Regions from separate parts of the Homo sapiens genome. Here region 1 is linked to region 2. Evidence: promoter capture Hi-C in human tissues and cell types (Jung and others, 2019). All regions are on one chromosome and are shown on one strand. Each heading gives the region's core, a stretch centred on a gene start or on the middle of the fragment in contact. The rest is flanking DNA. Distances are from core to core; before and after follow the strand shown. Region 1 overlaps GATAD2B (GATA zinc finger domain containing 2B). Region 2 holds the start of TPM3 (tropomyosin 3).

The links. The method cuts DNA at HindIII sites, captures the fragments that hold promoters and counts their contacts. A contact is called where the count stands out against the background at its distance.
Region 1: a contact is called between a fragment that was not itself captured here and the fragment with the promoter of TPM3 in region 2, in 1 of the 25 tissues and cell types used here (adrenal gland).

What each region holds. Positions count from the first base shown.
Region 1 is chr1:153,891,907-153,895,196 of GRCh38, forward strand. All of the region lies in intron 1 of GATAD2B (GATA zinc finger domain containing 2B), which reads right to left. Among named protein-coding and RNA genes, the nearest start is that of GATAD2B, 29 kb to the right of the region's middle. The HindIII fragment of the contact is 7,988 bases long and covers 1-3,290 here.
Region 2 is chr1:154,190,717-154,194,127 of GRCh38, forward strand. TPM3 (tropomyosin 3) reads right to left here and starts at 1,384. Exons shown (of 10, transcript NM_152263.4): 1 at 1,186-1,384; 2 at 470-595. The coding sequence starts at 1,302. MIR190B (microRNA 190b) reads right to left here and starts at 3,027; the gene lies at 2,949-3,027. The HindIII fragment of the contact is 10,185 bases long and covers 1-3,411 here.

The sequences.
Region 1 (3,290 bases), core at 146-2,645, 300 kb before region 2:
TAATCCTAGCACTTTGGGAGGCTGAGGCGGGCGGATCATGAGGTCAAGAAATCGAGACCATCCTGGCCAACATGGTGAAGCCCCGTATCTACTAAAAACACAAAAATTAGCCAGGCATGGCGGTGGCAGACGCCTGTAGTCCCAGCTACTCGGGAGGCTGAGGCAGGAGAATTGCTTAAACCCAGGAGGCGGAGGTTGCAGTGAGCCGAGATCATTTCACTGCACTCTAGCCTGGCAACAGAGTGAGACTCCGTCTCAAAAAAAAAAAAAAAAAAAAAAGAAAAGACAAGACAATTAGGGACAGAATCCCCAGGCCTAGCTAGAAGCAGCATAAGTCACTCACAAAACTCAAGAGTAAAACAGGTAACAAGACTATTATAGTATATAGAACACTACCACTAGTTAAGGTAAGACACACTAAAGGCTAAAGATCAGATATCTAGGAAAAAAGATCTAGCTGACCAAATATTAAACATACTAATAAGTATTCCCTCCTATTGAATCCAAGGGAAAAATAAATAAACTGATAAGTAAAGGGGTCTTTCAGGGTCAAAGCATCATCACTCACCTAGAACTCTCTAGACTGTAGAGGGATACATGAATACATAGCTGCTCATAACAATTGACTAGTAAATGGTCAAGGAGTTTAAAATCAGAATTGATGGATAAGATATGCCAATGTGAAATTCTGGACATTCATCGCTTCTGTCCAACAATATTATAAAATAATTTTGTCATCAAAATGGGCCCAACATTAGACAGTATCCAGTAGACTTGTAAGAAACCTTTTTTTTTTTTTTTTTTTTTTGAGACAGTCTCCCTGTGTCACCCAGGCTGGAGTGCAGTTGTGCCATCTTGGCTTATTGCAACCTCTGCCTCCCGGGTTCGGGCAATTATCCTACCTCCGCCTCCCAAGTAGCTGGGACTACAGGCACGTGCCACCACGCCTGGCTAATTTTTGTATTTTTAGTAGAGACGGGGTTTCACAATGTTGGCCAAGCTGATCTTGAACTCCTGACCTCGTGATCCACCCGCCTCGGCCTCCCAAAGTGCTGGGATTATAGGTGTGAGCCACTGCGCCCGGCCAAGAAATCTTCTTTATTGAAATGAGGGAAGAAAATATTCATGCAGAGGAGTGGATCAAGTTCTGTGAGGCTGTACCTAAACACAGTACAAGAGGAAAAACTTGTCTGGTCTGGATTTTACCTAGAGGAAACTTCTAGCAGTCTATTAGCTGAGATTTGCCCATTAGCATTGATGAGCACATGGAACCTACAGGAAAAACAGTGACACTTTTCTTCAATTCAGTGACATAAAGATTTGTCAAAATTCTGACTGTTGTTACGAGGATTTGGTATAGTAGGCAGGCTTATCATTTTACAGGGCAGTAAATGTTCACCTTAAAAAGTTTATCCCAGCTGGGCACGGGCCGGCTCACATCTGTAATCCCAGCACTTTGGGAGACTGAGGCAGGCAGATCACTTGAGCCCAGAAGTTTCACACCAGCCTGGGTGACATGCCGAAACCCAGTCTCTACAAAAAAAGACAAAAAGTTAGCTGGGCAGGGTGGCACATGCCTGTAGTCCCAGCTACTCAAGAGGCTGAAGTGGGAGGATTGCTTGAGCTGCAGGAGGCAGAGGTTGCAGTGAGCCGAGATCACAACACTGCACTCCAGCCTGGGCAACAGAGCAAGACTCTGTCTCAAAAAAAAAAATAAAATAAGTTTACCCCTTCCCCTAAGTAAAACTGAACTTTTAGAAAAGTTTATTCTTGGCCAGGCACACTGGCTCATGCCTGTAATCCCAGCACTTTGGAGGCCAAGGTGGGTGGATCACAGGGTCAGGAGTTCGAGAACAGCCTGGTCAACATGGTGAAATCCCATCTCTACTGAAAATATAAAAATTAGCCAGGCATCGTGGCAGGTGCCCGTAATCCCAGCTACTCAGGAGGCTGAGACGGGAGAATCGCTTGAACCTGGGAGGCGGGGGCTGCAGTGAGCCGAGATCGCACCACTGCACTTGGCCTGGGTGACTGAACAAGACTCCATCTAAAAAAAAAAAAAAAAAAAAAAAAAAACCCAAAAAATGTCCCCATACTAACTGGAACCACTATATTAAACACCACCAACATGACTTTATCTTCAAGGAGGTTTGTGGCAATTATTACCAAGTCTCAAGCTTGTAGTTGAACACAAATACTACCAGAGGAAGTCAGAATAGTGGCTACCTGTTGGAGTGGAGGAGGGTAATGACTAGGAGAGAACATAAAACAGACTTCTGGGACTGAGCATGTGGCTTACGCTTGTAATCCCAGCACTTTGGGAGGTTGAGGCGGGCAGATCACTTGAGGTCAGGAGTTCAAAACCAGCCTGGCCAACATGGTGAAACCTCGTCTCTACTAAAAATACAAAAATTAGCCAGGTGTGGTGGCACACGCCTGCAGTTCTAGCTACTCAGGAGGCTGAGGCAAGAAAATCGCTTCAACCCAGAAGGCAGAGGTTGCAGTGAGCTGAATTCGTGCCGCCGCACTCCAGCATGGGCGACAGAGCAAGATTCTGTCTCAAAAAACAAAAAAAGACTTCTGGGTCTTCTATATCTCTATCTGGGTGGTCACCTTACAATTAAACTACTTTTCTGTATGTACATTATACCTCAGTTAAAAAAAAAAGTTTACGGGCCAGGTACAGTGGCTCACGCCTGTAATCCTAGCACTTTGGGAGGCCGAGACAGGCAGATCACGAGGTCAGAAGATTGAGACCATCCTGGCTAACACGGGGAAACCCCGTCTCTACTAAAAATACAAAAAATTAGCCAGGCATGGTGGCACGCGCCTGCAGTCCCAGCTACTTGGCAGGCTGAGGCAGGAGAATCGCTTGAACCCGAGAGGCAGAGGTCGCAGTAAGTGGAGATTGCTCCACTGCACTCCAGCCTGGGTGACAGGTCGAGACTACGTCTCAAAAAAACAAACAAAGGCTGGGCGAGGTGGCTCACACCTGTAATCCCAGCACTTTGGGGGGCCAAGGCAGGTGGATCACCTGAGGTCAGGAGCTCAAGACCAGCCTGACCAACATGGAGAAACCCCATCTCTACTAAAAATACAAAATTAGTCAGGTGTGGTGGCACATGCCTGTAATCCCAGCTACTTGGGAGGCTGAGGCAGGAGAATCCCTTGAACCTAGGAGGCAGATGTTGCGGTGAACCAAGATCACATCATTGCACTCCAGCCTGGGCAACAAGAGCGAAGCTCCGTCTCAAAAACAAACAAACAAACAAAAAGTTAGCTGGGCGTGG
Region 2 (3,411 bases), core at 134-2,633:
TCAGTGTGACCTCCATTTCCCATTGTGAAATCCGAGCTGGTTTTGTTGGACAGTTGAGAGATGAGAGGTTCCCTATTAATACACATATCCACATGCCAAGACTTGGACATAAAAGCTAAGAATGTGGCATGGGGGAGGAGGTAGGATAAGTGACAGCATTCTGAACTTAGAGTCCCCTCTCTTTGTCCAGGTCCTGGGAAAGATAATTAAATTCCTGGGTTGGTGATAGGAGATAAATGAGACCTTTACATGTATTAAAAAAAAACTTTTAACATGTTGGAGATGTCTTTAAGAAAGAAAATACATGCCATTATGAGAATATACCAGCATGTGGTTATATGCAAAAATGTATGTGAGTATATATGTCTGTGTTCCATGAACCCACAAGTGTGTTTGGAATTTCGTCATACATTAACATAAAGATCTATATGTGTAGATTAAACCCATCCTCCATCTCTCTAATACTCACATCAGCAGCCTTCTTCTCTGCCAGTTCCAGCTTCTCCTGGGCATCCTTCAAAGCTTCAGAATACTTGTCCAGCTCATCCTCTGTCCCTTTCAGCTTCTTCTGCATGGCTGCCAGCTCATCCTCCAGCTATAGGAGCCCAGAGAGTCACACACAAAAACACACAAACACAACAATGCAGGGTTGGACCCTGGGCTCTTGGAGCCCTGAGTGTAACCTCCATGTTACCATCCCTAGTGAGACACACTTTCTCCCCAGCCACTTCCAGCCCACTGCCTCAGGAGTTATGCCGTAGCTTGGCCTGTGACCCTGTAATCTCTGATCCTAAGATGACCAAGCCATCCTGGGTTTTCATCCAAGACCCCTGGATGATAAATATCTAAAGTGTAGATGCCCGTGATGCTATTTGAGTGAAAAGAGATGCTCTTTCCCTCTAGAACTCTTACCTTTTCCTCTAGAAGTCAAGGGTTCTTCCAAAACATGGTCCATTTCTACTTAAATTCAGCAGACATACTGTGGCTCACTGACTTTCCCAAGGTCACAAAGGCAGTCTGAGACAGATATGTTAGATATCCTCTGCTCCTCCAGTGAGGCTGGGGAGTCCATCCCACCCCCAAAAAGGAGGTGACACCAGTAGTCACTGTCTTTCCCATGAAAACTCCCTTCCATTTCACAGTCTTGTTCACTAGCAGATGAGAGAGATCAATGCCAGTGCCTACCTGTTTACTTCTTTCTTCTGCCTGCTTCTGCTCAGCTTCAGCTTGCTCTGCCCGATCCAGAGCATTCTCCTTGTCTAACTTCAGCATCTGCATCTTTTTCTTGATGGCCTCCATCATGAGCAGTGGCTGTTGGTAGGCTCACCTGTGAACACTGGAGAACTGGAGACTGGGGCAAGAAAGAAGGGGCTGCTGCCTGAGTGACCAGGAGGTCCCCAGACTTGAGTCTTTATCTGTGCTCATAGCTCCACCTTTTGTTCCTAATATGGTCTTTCCAGCTCCCTCCACCCCATCATTGTTCTCCTGGGGGAACACAGGGTGAGACGCTTTGATGAACTGACATCACCAGCAAAAAAAATATCTAGCAACAGCTGAGGCTGATTTTAGACAATGGAAAGTGGGGGAGGGAAGAGGTTCTCCCTGACCCTGAAACTTTCCACTCATTCTGGGCAGCTCTATGGATGTTTTAAAAGAAGAGGAAGAGGGGAGGGAAGAACATTGAAATAGAGAAGTGTACTTTGGCAATTCTAGGTTGGCAGTTTGCATCCAGGGGGTCCTGGTTGCCTTTCAGCTTCCCGTTTCACTCTCCCCCAGACTGTGTTGAATGCTGGTCAAACTCCGTTAGTTGAGTTTTAGCTTTTGATTCCTGGTATTCAAGGAGCTTGGGCACAGGGAAGAGGGGAGGTCACTCATGATCCTTAACAATTCTCCCAGATCCCCAGATCAAATTGCTGTGCTATTCTGGGAGTCTCCGATTGGCAGGGAGACGTTTTTCCTCCCCACCAAGAGCCACAAGAGTAGAGTAAGAGGTAGGGTTGGAATCTCCAACCCTATCCTTGAAGGCTATCCCAGAGCTTCAAGTGGGGTGGGGAGAGAAACAGGGGAGGGTCAGAACAATCCAGACAGGATCATACCCTTTGTTTTCCCACAGTAATCTTAAAATAGAACTGTTGTACCCACACAGACTTTGGTCTGTGTGGCTCTCTCCTCTTCTTCCCTTTATCTTCTCCCTTCTTAATTCTCCCCAACGCTGCCACTCACCACATCATCGTAATCATCATTATCAGCTCTATTCTTTCCAGTTTAGTTCCAGACCATGTTTATTCTTCCATTGGGAGCCTTGTTACTAACAGGTGGCAAGGATACCAGTCCACTGGCACCATACACCTGAAAATATGCCAAGGGAGAGGTGGGCACTGTTCAAGGTGACCAGATATATTGGACAAATATAAATGGCTCTAGTTAGTCATTTATGTCAGGATACTGAGAGTTAATGCTAAGCCCCAGCAATGGGGGAACGGAGACACCCACCAGGCCAGTGGGTAGAGCAGAGCTGGAGTCCACTATTGAGAGCTTCCAGTCACTAGAGGTAGATAGGCAGATAGACCATCAGCTGACTCTCGACAGAGAGAGGAGAAACCAAGTCTCCTTTCTCTGGAGATTAGCCAGGGAAAGGGGTTAGGGAACAGGGAGAGGAAGGAGTGGAAAATGGGGGGGGGGTGGGCAAGTGAATAAGGGGGAGAAAAATACGAGGACAAGAAAAGGCAAAGAAATGTCCCTTCTAGTATAAGGGGACAAGAAATAGAAAGATTCTATCCTCAAATTCCAACTCTCTCCCATTCCCACACCAGCCCTCTTAGGTTAAGATTGAAATGCACATAGGTTGCAGCTACTGGACTTTTGGGGGGGTCCTGGAGAGAAGAGGTTCAGTAAAAGAGACAGGAGCCCCAGAGATTGAAGTATGAAAGAGGGTGGTGCTGAATCACCTGCTGCTGTAAGAATATGTTTGACATTTAGTTGGTTCCTAATTAAACAACCCAATATCAAACATATCACACAGAAGCAGGCAGGAGAGCTTTGGGGGTCATCTGCCTTCCTTCCAGTTGCAAAGAAAGAATAGAGCAGACACCAGGCACCAATCATGTCTAGGTGGAGAGCCATCTCCTTGAGGAAGGGTACTGGCTCCTGCTCTTCACCTCCCAAGACAGCCAGCTCTTGCTTATTGTCCTACGTGTCATCCCTGCCTCAGCTCCTCCTCTACAAGCTCCTGGCCTTTGCTGGATCACGTTGGCCTAAACCAGGAAGAATACCTGGCAGGGCTCCACATCCGGGCAACTATCGTTCCCTAGAGCTCCCACACAGAGCTTCTCACCCTGATGTCACGGCCCCAGCGCCCAGAGGATCAGCCGTGTCAGCAGCTCCTCATCAAAATTGCCACCTGCTCTCTTC